Regions from separate parts of the Homo sapiens genome. Here region 2 is linked to region 1. The links are contacts of gene promoters, found by promoter capture Hi-C in human tissues and cell types (Jung and others, 2019). All regions are on one chromosome and are shown on one strand. The core of a region is centred on a gene start or on the middle of the fragment in contact, and the rest is flanking DNA. Distances in the headings are between cores, read along the strand shown.

Region 1 (6,354 bases), core at 1,989-4,488:
AATCCTCCCTGCCTCTGCTCAGGGCTCTGTCGGGGGTCCTGATGCCAAAGAAACTGAGATCCTCCCATGGCCCAGAGACCATGCTGTGGATGGGGGCAGTGCTTGGAGCCAGGAGCTTCAGTGTAGGGGGCACCAGGAAGATTTCGTCTCTCATTCCCTGCACCTGCCCCTAGGAAACCACTCCACCTGCATAAGCCCCACAGACCGCGGCAAGCTCCGTCTTAATGCAGACACTGGCAGTTCCTGCATGGCAGGATAGCGGCAGCATGCCACACTCCTCAGCACGCCACACTCCTCGGCGCGCCACGCTCCTCGGCTGCATTATCTTTGTCTGTGTGTAGAACCTTAGCAATAAAATGCACTTTCAACACTTTTCAGAGCCTTACGACTTACCACACACATACAGCTACTATGACATGAGAAAGAAGCAAAACAATGGGTCCCTTCTGGAAAGGGGGCCACTCCATGTGTGGCAGAGCTGTCTTGCTAGGGCAGTAATCCATGTGCTATTTCTGATGAAGACAGAAGAAGCACCCATCTCATGCAAGAGCACTTCTAATTTCTACCTGTGACTTGCAGGCAGTGTCAGAGGGAGGCACATTCATTCATTCAGACAACAAGCCTACTCTTGGTCAAGCGACAGGCTGGGGGCGGAGGAGCGCAGAGGTCACTGCAGTGGGATGGGGGCTGGAGGGTCCTGGCTGGGCCTGACATGGGAGTCTGAGTCCAGGGCCAGCAGACACGAGGCCCCTATAGACTGGAGCTGGACAAGGGCCAGAGCCAGGGGCCTCAGAAGAGGGTCCGCTCGGCCTGGGTGGGCGTGGGAGGCCCCAGGCAGGTCCACTTCCTTCAGAACAAATGCCTCCCTTCTTTCCACCTGGCTTCAGCCCTAACCTGCTGCCAAGCACCCCTTTCTCTCTCCCTGCTTGACCACAGAGTCCGCACAGTTACTTCAGGCAAGGTGTCCTGGGCAACGCAGCCTCAAGCCTCCTGCTGAGCAAACAGAAAGGTGAAGTGCACTGCAGGCACTGTGTCCACATCGGCAAATGGTTTTCAAATAATATCTTTGTTTCAGGAAAAAGCTCCGATGGAGATAAATGTTTTGTTAGCAGCCAGAAGGTTCATTTCTGACGAAACCCTAGTTCTCCTAGCAGATCTTCCCACGTTAGAGCTGTTTCCCCTAGTTGCTCTGGCAAGGGCAGATGTTTTTGGTGAGGCTGTTAAGTGGGTTAACCATTTTAATAATATTTTCACCTGTGACTGTGAGTGGGAAAGCTGAGCCTGGCCCAAATGCTTAAGGAGCCTCTTGAGTTCTGTTCGGATGGTGCCAATGTGAGTGTCCCATACCTCAAGTGGACAGGCCTCCTCCAGCTCGGGCCAACGCTGAGCACCATTCTGTCCTACCCACTTCGTACTTCCAGGAGTCAGTCCCGTTCCTCTGTCCAAGTCCCGGTCCAGAGGGACTTTCAGGGGGTAGCACCGACAGCATGGCTGCCCCTCCCACCAGTCAGGTCACCCAGTGCTGCCACCGAGGTGGGGAGGCCTTCCTGAGCAGGTGTGGAAAACGCAGTGGGCGCTGTGGATGGTGTTGGCAGTTGTGGGGTGGGAGGCGCACTAGAGGGCATGTGGTGGAGGAGGCCCTGTGGATGGAGGTGGGGAGGGATGATGACAACCATGCAGAGGATGTGGATGGTGACGACGGGAAGCTGGGGACCATGGGGAAGGTGGTGGTGGAGGCAGTGCTGCTGGTGGTGGGGTTGAAGGAGGTGGTGTTGACGGAGGAGTTGGCAGTACAGGTGGTGTTACTCCGGGCAGCACAGATGGCAGAGGCGATGTGGCTGGCAGTGGGTTGAGGCTGGAGGTGGGCGAGGGTATGAGAGGGCTGATGGTGGAGGTGGCCGTGGTGACGGAGCTGGAGGGGACTCTACTTGAGGCTGGCCCAGCAGTTTTCTAGATATGATCTGGGGTGTTTCAGGGAACCACCAGGTACCAGTGCACCGTGGCCTACTCAGGGCGAGTGCTCCATGCAGTTACCAGGTGCATTTCATTCCCTGGGCTGCCATAAGGGCTTGGCCTGGGGTCACACTCTGGGAGCCATGGAGACAGAACCGGCACTCGGGCCTGTTCCTTCAGCTGAGCTGAGCCTGCTGTCATGAGTCCCTGGCCCCAGGAGTCCCACTGGGAGTCCTGTTTGGAGAGTCTGAGCCTGAGCGGCCAGCCCCCAGACTGCGGAGAGGACGGCAGGGAGGGGCAAGCCTGTTGCTAGCCCGCCTAGGAGGGTCAGCGAAGAAGCAGGCCCTGCCCTGAGCGCCTGGGCAAGGGGTCCAGCCTCCTGGCTCTGGGCCGCACTGGCGTCCACGGGGGGCGGGGCTGAAATGGCCCAAGGAGGGGCTGCAACCTTCGCAGGCCCGGCGCCCCACTTGGGAAACTGAGGCCCGGGAAGCCCGTGCCCACGGCCACATTGCCATGTGTGAAAACCAGGGCAGTACCAGGACCCCTGCTCTCCCCTGGGAATCAGGCGCCGGGAAGACGCGCTCGGCAGGTCTGGCAGGGGCCGGGGCGCCGCGCTCCACTCGCCCCCGCCTCGGTGCCCGGCGGCTGCCGCCCCCGCCCCGCCCGCGCGCCTCTCCCGCGGGCCGCTGTCCGGCCTTGGCCGCCGAGGAGGAAGCGCTGTCCTCATTCCACCTCGGGCCGCCCCGGTGCCAAGTGGCTGGCGGCGGCGGCGGGAGTCCGGGCCCGGCGGGCAGCGGCCGGGGCGCAGCTCCCTCCCCTCCCGGGCGCCCCGCGAGCCCGGGGGTTACTCACGTAGAGTCCGGAGTGCTCGGCACCGAAGAACGGGAAGGGCACCGAGAGCGGCCGCAGCCCCGAGCCGCCGTCGTCCTGCTTGGGGGTGACGGCGTCGCCGCGCTCGGCGCCGAACGGGTAGAAGTCGGCAAGGGCCACCGCGCCGCGCACCCCGCGCGCCCCAAGCCCCAGGGCCGCGGCCACCAGCAGCGCCCAGGCGACGCCGTGCCGCATCGCGGAGGTGTGCGGGCGGGACGGGGCGCTGGCGGAGCAGGGCGCTGGGGGACTAGGCTGCGCGCGGGGGTGGCCGGCAGGGCCAGGCGGGGTGCGGGGAGCGCGGGCGCGCCCGCTGGCCGCGCCGTCGGGGGCTCCGCGTCCCGCGCCCGTTCGGCCGGGCCGCGCTCTCGCCGCAGCTCCGCAGAGGAAAGCGCCGGGCGGGACCGCGTTCGGGGCCAGCCCCGCCCCTGGGGCCACGATTTAAATATCCAGCCCGGCGGTCACTCGGGGGGGCGGGGCCATGCAAATCGGGCGTCTCTTAAAGCGCCAGGCCCCGTGGGAGGGCGCGGGCGCGCGGGGAGCTCAGTCCCCTGGCGTGGGCACAGGCAAGGTGAGGGCTCTGCGGGCGCGCGCCCTGTGGTGGGGCCATGCTCCGCCCTGGGTCCCTACCCTGGTGGAGGCGCCTGGGCCCTCAGTGCCGTCCTGGGACAGACCTGTGTCCCTAAGGCCTGAGACGCTGGGCCCGCCCTGAAGGCGTGTCATCACGCGGGGGGCGGGAGGGGACCCTGGCCAGGCAGTGCCTGAATGAACCCGTTCCGTGCTGCCCCCTTCCCAGCCCTGAGCATGGGGACGCCAGGCTTCCAGCCACAGGGGCAGACTAACCCCGGAGCCCACTCCCTGCCTGGGTCTGTGTGAGGAAGAGCCCGGGCCGGAGACTAGGAGGCATGGAACAAAGTGTTTGCATCTGCGTGGCCGCATCAGGAGAAATTCCTGGGAGGCTCGGGACCTCGGGGCGACCCCTGGGTAAAGCAAACCCTCCGTGGGGAAGACTGACCCACTCAGGCCCTGGGGGCAAGTGCGTGCATGACACCGGCCTTGGCAGGTGGGGGCAGGACTCTGAGTCCCAGTATTTGAATTCAGGGTCCCCACCCTGTGGCCTGCCAGCCCTGCCCCCTGTCTCTTGGGCTGCTGGCCTGGGCTGCCTGTCTGTCCTTCCTCAGGGCCTCAGCCGGGACCACCTCTATGTCCCCAGGCCCATGGCAGGGTCTGATTCCTGGAACTCACCCGGCCCACCGTGGTCTCTTCTCTTAGATCCTGGTGTTGGGTGGTGTTGGCTGCGTGCCACACTGGGGCCCCCAAAGATAAGAGTGCACCCCTCGAAGACAAGCAGGAAAGGCCGGGCTGATGGTAACTGCATCTACCACTGAGGTGCTGGGTGGTTTTTTGTTTGTCTTTGCGTTTGTATCTTCTGAAATATCTCAAGTGAGCACGTGTTGTTTTTCAGTGAGAGCCAGGCACAGTCAATGTTATTTTTAAGAAGCAGCGGAGGGTTCTCTGCGTGTGACTGGGTGTTGCCGGTTCTCACAGATCCTGCACTTGGTGTTTTCACTCAGAGGTTCATGACCCTTTAGACTTGGTGTCAGGGCCGGGTGCAGAATTGTTAAGGAGGAGCTGACCCTGCACTGGCACCTCCTGAAAGCTTGCCCCTGGCGCCTCTCCCACCCTGCATGGGGTGGCAATTCTGTTTGCAGAGAGGCAAACTGGGCCTGGGAGGGGAAGGGCTCTGTCCCGCAGTTAGCCCTTAGGTCACCGTCCCAGCTTTCAGAGCTCCAGGACAGCAGCACAGCCATGGTTCCAGGGCCAGAAAGGTCAAGGCCTCCTGTCTTTGGAGGGAGGCACCAGAGAGGGCGTGGAACTGTAGAATCCCTACTTGAGGCCGGCTCTCGGTGAGAGCCTGGCAAGGAGAGACATGTCTCCACGCACATGCACACACGTCCACGCACACATGCATACTTATTCACATGCACGGAGGCAGCATATGCCCATACGTGGGGCCTCAAGAACATGCTTTAACCCCTTCCTCAGCCCAGCCCTGGCCTCCCTGGTCAGGGAGGGCTGCTCCCACCTCTGGCTGGCACAGGCCGTGGAGTCAGGACAAGGCCCCATGTAGCAGCGTTGGGAACAGAGCTGCCAGGCGTCACCGTGGCGGGAATCAGGGAGAACGCTTTTCTATTTGTCTTTTTTCTAGAAAAACCTGGCAGCCCTCTACCCTCTTTTCAGTGCATTTGGGGCCTGGCTGGAAGGCCCCTCCGGTGAGTTTGCGAAGGTGGGAGGCGGCAGTGCCAACCCCAGGGCAGGATTTCTCCGCTGAAGAGGTGTTGTCATGGGGACGTGAGGCTTTGACCCCCACTAGGGCTGGCCCACCTCCTGCCCTGTCCCTACTACCCATCCACTTCCCACCACATGCTCCTGCTCTGCTCTCAGAGCCCAGCCTGGGGTGCTGCCTCCCAGCCAGCTGCCCAGGCCAGGCGCCCTTCTCCCCACTGCTGACCTTCTCTTGAGCACACAAGACAGGGACCTGGGTAACAACCCATTTCTGGGCTGGGTTTGGGTCAACTTGGGGGCAGGGCCGCCCAGGGCACCTTGGGGCACACAGTGGCACTCAGTGGCTGCACCGAGTGGAGGCCTGTTTCTTCAGGCGGGTGGGCTGGTGGGCCTCACGGGGGTCGCTGAGCAGTGCTGGAAACGCTCAGGCCCGTCCTCGTCCCAGAGAGTCAGAGCTCATGGGCCTGGGGCGTGGCTGGCAGTGGGCCAGACCCTGCTCATGGCCCAGAGAGGCCACACTTCCTCGGGCCTGTACCCTGCTGACCAGCCTCGGCCTGCACCCTGTGCAGATTTTCAGCCGGGCCCGGGGAGCTGGGGGTTAACAAAAGGCCCCGCTGCTGCTGGGCATTACATTTCATTAAAAAAAAAAAAAACAAAAAAAAAACAACACAACTCTGCAGGCAAAAAAGAGAAAAAAAAATGTTTTTCTCAGGTGCTAAAAATATTATCAGGAAATACTTTTCAGCAATGTGCTGTTTTAGGCTCCCCTCTGGACTCAAGGGCGCCTTTGTCTCTGCCACAGAAAATCCACATTTATCAAAACCAAAATTGTTTTATCAAGCAGGCTCATGTTCTGTGGCCAGGAAACCCGAGCCTCCCCAACCGGCCTGTGACATTTTAATTTAGGGCCTGAGCGTGTGTGCAATTTAGATGGGGTGCCCCGGGAGCTGCCCTCAGGATGCCCCAGGACTCGGGGCTCCACGCAGGCCAAGGTGGGGGTGCCCTCCCCAACCTGCACCTGGTTGGCTGGGCCTGTTTGGTCTTCACAGGGTGGAAGATCCTGGGGGTTCAGGCCTGAGCTGCCAGGGGCAGGGGCTGGCTGGCTGTAGCCCACCCTAACTTTCTCTCCTTCTCTCCCAGAAGTGGCAGGTGGAGTGCAGGTCCCCTGCCCCAGAAGCGCTGATCCCAAGTAAACCTCCACATGCTCCGGAATGAGGCCAGGAGGTCACAGGGACCAAGGGCCGCTCC
Region 2 (6,354 bases), core at 1,898-4,397, 450 kb after region 1:
GTCACCTGTGAACCTGGCAGGGAGCTCAGCAGCATGGGGCTCCTGAGTGGGGACAGGACCCTCCAAACCTAAGATCAAGGTCACCAGGGAGAAGGCATGTCCGTGCTCTCCTGACTCAGGATGTCTAGGTAGTTTTAAGCCTCCCCACAGTCCCCCACCTGAGGAGAAGACAGAGAGGGAGCCTGGCTATCAGGCTGACTGCCTGGTAACCCCTCTGGGTGCTTCAGTTGCCGACTCTAATAGTCGCATGCCAGGCATCCCTGAGTTCTGCCACAGCCCTGGGTGGTCCCCATTCATTGCCAACCAGGCATGGTGGCTCAGCCTCAAGGGCATCCCGTCAGGTTCTGGAAGAGCAGCAATTTCTCACCAACTTCTCCATCTCACAGTCATACCATGGGCAGTTTTACCGGGACCACTGCCATGGCCTGGGTACCTACATGTGGCCAGATGGCTCCAGTTTCACGGGCACATTTTACCTCAGCCACCGAGAAGGCTACGGCACCATGTACATGAAGACACGGCTTTTCCAGGTGAGGGGGCTGCCATGTGTTCAGCTGGGGTCGAAGTGGCTGTGTGTGTCTAAGCCACTGGACAAAAAGATATTTCGGTCCTGGGGAAGTTTATTTGTTTAGCTACAAGTAGCTTTTTTACTTTTAATGATTAAAATGGTACCAATAATAAGGATATAGACTGAAAATAAAAGCCTCCTTGCATTTTATTCCCCAGAGGGATACCAGCAAATTGTTACATGTCCTTTAGATTTAAGAAACGCACGTGTTTATTTTTAAATATGTAAACTGGATCACTGTACACATAATGTTTGAAATGTGCCTTTTTAAATGGAGAACATGCCTAGTCTTTCAAATACAGATGCCTTTCCCCCTTTTATTACAGTATAATTTACAGTAAAATTCACCCATTTTAATATATAGTTCTGAAATTTTTGACAATTACAGGGTTGTGTAACTACTACTGTAGTCAGGATATACAAACAGTTCCATCACCCTCAAAATATTGCCATGGCCTTTGTAATAAATGTCTCCTTCAACAAACTGTGGCTGATCTATTTTGGCCTAGAATTTTGCCCTTGTGAGAATGCCATATTAATGGTGTCAACAGAAAAAAAACAAACTCTGCAAAATATTTTAAAGAGGTTTATTCTGAGCCAATATGAGTGGCTGTTACTGAAACACCAGGGGTTCGCTCTAGATCTTTCCGCTTCCTGCACAGAAAGCCCATCACTGAGACAATGAGTATTGCCAAGGAAGAAGGCTGTAATTTGGAGGTGCAGCTGAAGAGATGGGAGCTTAATCTCAAATCCATCCCCCTGACTAAAACTAGGGGTTTATATATCAAGGAAGAAATGTAATAATGTGTGAGAAAGCAGGAACTTGGGAGGGGTGAGGAAGCAGTCACGGTGAACAAAGGGCCTGGAGTCACATTGAATGCCATGGTCTGGTGAGTTTCAGTTCTTTGATACTTTCTGAGAGGAGTTTCAGCTCTTTGATACTTTTTGAGAGGCCTGAAGGTCTTTCCTGAGGAAGAAACTCAGATAAAACAAATTTAAGTTTCAAGCTTTAAGACCAGAAGGGTCAATTTCTATGTTTATCTGGAAACAACTCTCTGTAGGATTACTGGGCTGGTTTCAGTCCCCCCTTTTTGTTTATCAGTTCCTCAACCATGGGGAATCAGGTTGTGGGTCTTTCTGGCTGCTCCATGCTGAGGAGGGGCGTTGTGGGCAGCTCCATACCATGGGTGACCATGTGGTCACTTAGGAATCAAAGGTTAATCTAAATAGAGTTTTCTTCTAAAAGACAATCTCTTTCCATTCCCCCACTTGCATCAAAGACAAATAACAGTAGGACAACCTACTTGCAAAATAAGCTTCAGTTTCCTGGTGCCCTGATCACCCACACAAAGCACAGCAAGAACTGTGGTTCGCATAGGCTGTCCTAAACTGGCTTTGCCGGAACCTCTCGCAAGGCCATTTCAGTTAAAGCCTTGGGAAAATAACCAGTTCCCCCAGCTGTGTCCCATTATAAAATAAAACAGATTCTTATTAAACATATGCAAACAAACACGTTGCCATGAATTAAGAATATTCACAAATAGTTTAAAAATTCTGGAGAAATTAGGCAGAGAGAAATATGACTCAAATTTTGTTTACAAATGTATACTCTACTCAGTACACTTAAAGTATATTTCAAGGTTATGAATAGCTCAAAAGAAAAAAATTATCCTGACTCTGAAAGACAAAAGAAGAATCAGCAATATTTCAAAAAAAAAAAAAACATAAAAAGCATTCCAGTGTTCTGTTAGCTGAGTCCATGCAGTCAGCTCCTGCCCTGTGTCATATTGGGTGAGCAATGTTTATGAACACATCAGCCTTCCAATTAGTGCAGTGGAAGTTTTCTCTCTCATCCAGTGGCACAATCGCCAAAGTTATCAGACACCTGAATTCAATAGTCCTTTTCAGGAACTCCCCCAAAGAAGCAAGCCCTGGACGGTAGCTGATTACAAGTCACTTTTTTTGAGAAAGATCAAAGCAAAACAATTGTGGATGACAAAAGTCTTAAGGCAGCCATAGTCAAAAGATAGAGATGACAAGGAAATTTGGTTATTTCTGTGTCATACAACAATTTAACATAATAATCATTAACTATTGTTGACAACATATATTTAAACATATTAGAATTTCAAGAATGTCATAAATCCTGGAACACATATTAATAACATGTATATAAATAAAACCCAAAGAAAGTTAAATACCACCTCACAATTTACAATGCTTCCGGTATAATTCTAATATAACAAATAAGCCTAATATGTCTTTCTTGGACTTCAGGAAGCCTAATATCCAAAAAAAGTTAATTTAAGATCAAAAATTTACCTTCATCAAGAGTAAGATCTTTTTTTTTAAATTTATTATTATTATACTTTAAGTTTCAGGGTACATGTGCACAATGTGCAGGTTAGTTACATATGTATACATGTGCCATGCTGGTATGCTGCACCCACTAACTCGTCATCTAGCATTAGGTATATCTCCCAATGCTATCCCTCCCCCCTCCCCCCACCCCACAGCAGTCCCCAGAGTGTGATGTTCCCCTTCCTGTGTCCATGTGTTCTCGTTGTTCAATTCCCGCCTATGAGTGAGAATACGCGGTGTTTGGTTTTTTGTTCTTGCGATAGTTTACCGAGAATGATGATTTCCAATTTCATCCATGTCCCTACAAAGGATGTGAACTCATTTTTTATGGCTGCATAGTATTCCATGGTGTATATATGCCACATTTTCTTAATCCAGTCTATCATTGTTGGACATTTGGGTTGGTTCCAAGTCTTTGCTATTGTGAATAATGCCACAATAAACATACGTGTGCATGTGTCTTTATAGCAGCATGATTTATAGTCCTTTGGGTATATACCCGGTAATGGGATGGCTGGGTCAAATGGTATTTCTAGTTCTAGATCCCTGAGGAATCGCCACACTGACTTCCACAATGGTTGAACTAGTTTACAGTCCCACCAACAGTGTAAAAGTGTTCCTGTTTCTCCACATCCTCTCCAGCACCTGTTGTTTCCTGACTTTTTAATGATTGCCATTCTAACTGGTGTGAGATGGTATCTCATTGTGGTTTTGATTTGCATTTCTCTGATAGCCAGTGATGGTGAACATTTTTTCATGTGTTTTTTGGCTGCATAAATGTCTTCTTTTGAGAAGTGTCTGTTCATGTCCTTCACCCACTTTTTGATGGGGTTGTTTGTTTTTTTCTTGTAAATTTGTTTTGAGTTCATTGTAGATTCTGGATATTAGCCCTTTGTCAGATGAGTAGGTTGTGAAAATTTTCTCCCATTTTGTAGGTTGCCTGTTTACTCTGATGGTAGTTTCTTTTGCTGTGCAGAAGCTCTTTAATTTAATTAGATCCCATTTGTCAATTTTGGCTTTTGTTGCCATTGCTTTTGGTGTTTTAGACATGAAGTCGTTGCCCATGCCTATGTCCTGAATGGTAATGCCTAGGTTTCTTCTAGGGTTTTTATGGTTTTAGGTCTAACGTTTAAGTCTTTAATCCATCTTGAATTGATTTTTGTATAAGGTGTAAGGAAGGGATCCAGTTTCAGCTTTCTACATATGGCTAGCCAGTTTTCCCAGCACCATTTATTAAATAGGGAATCCTTTCCCCATTGCTTGTTTTTCTCAGGTTTGTCAAAGATCAGATAGTTGTAGATATGCGGCGTTATTTCTGAGGGCTCTGTTCTGTTCCATTGATCTATATCTCTGTTTTGGTACCAGTCCCATGCTGTTTTGGTTACTGTAGCCTTGTAGTATAGTTTGAAGTCAGGTAGTGTGATGCCTCCAGCTTTGTTCTTTTGGCTTAGGATTGACTTGGCGATGCGGGCTCTTTTTTGATTCCATATGAACTTTAAAGTAGTTTTTTCCAATTTTGTGAAGAAAGTCATTGGTAGCTTGATGGGGATGGCATTGAATCTGTAAATTACCTTGGGCAGTATGGCCATTTTCACGATATTGATTCTTCCTCCCAATGAGCATGGAATGTTCTTCCATTTGTTTGTATCCTCTTTTATTTCCTTGAGCAGTGGTTTGTAGTTCTCCTTGAAGAGGTCCTTCACATCCCTTGTAAGTTGGATTCCTAGGTATTTTATTCTCTTTGAAGCAATTGTGAATGGGAGTTCACTCATGATTTGGCTCTCTGTTTGTCTGTTGTTGGTGTATAAGAATGCTTTTGATTTTTGTACATTGATTTTGTATCCTGAGACTTTGCTGAAGTTGCTTATCAGCTTAAGGAGATTTTGGGCTGAGACAATGGGGTTTTCTAGATATACAATCATGTCGTCTGCAAACAGGGACAATTTGGCTTCCTCTTTTCCTAATTGAATACCCTTTATTTCCTTCTCCTGCCTAATTGCCCTGGCCAGAACTTCCAACACTATGTTGAATAGGAGTGGTGAGAGAGGGCATCCCTGTCTTGTGCCCGTTTTCAAAGGGAATGCTTCCAGTTTTTGCCCATTCAGTATGATACTGGCTGTGGGTTTGTCATAGATAGCTCTTATTATTTTGAGATACGTCCCATCAATACCTAATTTATTGAGAGTTTTTAGCGTGAAGTGTTGTTGAATTTTGTCAAAGGTCTTTTCTGCATCTAGTGAGATAATCATGTGGTTTTTGTCTTTGGTTCTGTTTATACGCTGGATTACATTTACTGATTTGCGTATATTGAACCACCCTTGCATCCCAGGGATGAAGCCCACTTGATCATGGTGGATAAGCTTTTTGATGTGCTGCTGGATTCGGTTTGGCAGTATTTTATTGAGGATTTTTGCATCAATGTTCATCAAGGATATTGGTCTAAAATTCTCTTTTTTGGTTGTGTCTCTGCCCGGCTTTGGTATCAGGATGATGCTGGCCTCATAAAATGAGTTAGGGAGGATTCCCTCTTTTTTTATTGATTCGAATAGCTTCAGAAGGAATGGTACCAGTTCCCCCTTGTACCTCTGGTAGAATTCGGCTGTGAATCCATCTGGTCCTGGACTCTTTTTGGTTGGTAAACTATTGATTATTGCCACAATTTCAGCTCCTGTTATTGGTCTATTCAGAGATTCAACTTCTTCCTGGTTTAGTCTTGGGAGAGTGTATGTGTTGAGGAATTTATCCATTTCTTCTAGATTTTCTAGTTTATTTGCGTAGAGGTGTTTGTAGTATTCTCTGATGGTAGTTTGTATTTCTGTGGGATCGGTGGTGATATCCCCTTTATCATTTTTTATTGCATCTATTTGATTCTTCTCTCTTTTTTTCTTTATTAGTCTTGCTAGCAGTCTATCAATTTTGTTGATCCTTTCAAAAAACCAGCTCCTGGATTCATTAATTTTTTGAAGGGTTTTTTGTGTCTCTATTTCCTTCAGTTCTGCTCTGATTTTAGTTATTTCTTGCCTTCTGCTAGCTTTTGAATGTGTTTGCTCTTGCTTTTCTAGTTCTTTTAATTGTGATGTTAGGGTGTCAATTTTGGATCTTTCCTGCTTTCTCTTGTGGGCATTTAGTGCTATAAATTTCCCTCTACACGCTGCTTTGAATGCGTCCCAGAGATTCTGGTATGTTATGTCTTTGTTCTCGTTGGTTTCAAAGAATATCTTTATTTCTGCCTTCATTTCGTTATGTACCCAGTAGTCATTCAGGAGCAAGTTGTTCAGTTTCCATGTAGTTGAGCGGTTTTGAGTGAGATTCTTAATACTGAGTTCTAGTTTGATTGCACTGTGGTCTGAGAGGATAGTTTGTTATAATTTCTGTTCTTTTACATTTGCTGAGGAGAGCTTTACTTCCAAGTATGTGGTCAATTT

Evidence for each region. Contacts are between HindIII fragments. The study calls those that stand out against the background at their distance.
Region 2: a contact is called between a fragment that was not itself captured here and the fragment with the promoter of SNED1 in region 1, in 1 of the 25 tissues and cell types used here (H1 embryonic stem cells).

What each region holds. Positions count from the first base shown.
Region 1 is chr2:240,995,502-241,001,855 of GRCh38, reverse strand. SNED1 (sushi, nidogen and EGF like domains 1) reads right to left here and starts at 3,238. Exons shown (of 32, transcript NM_001080437.3): 1 at 2,806-3,238. The coding sequence starts at 3,018. RefSeq lists a silencer at 3,187-3,606. The HindIII fragment of the contact is 20,006 bases long and covers 1-5,790 here.
Region 2 is chr2:240,547,090-240,553,443 of GRCh38, reverse strand. ANKMY1 (ankyrin repeat and MYND domain containing 1) reads left to right here. Exons shown (of 18, transcript NM_001282771.3): 4 at 387-530. Among named protein-coding and RNA genes, the nearest start is that of ANKMY1, 7.7 kb to the left of the region's middle. RefSeq lists a silencer at 1,471-1,570. The HindIII fragment of the contact is 6,176 bases long and covers 60-6,235 here.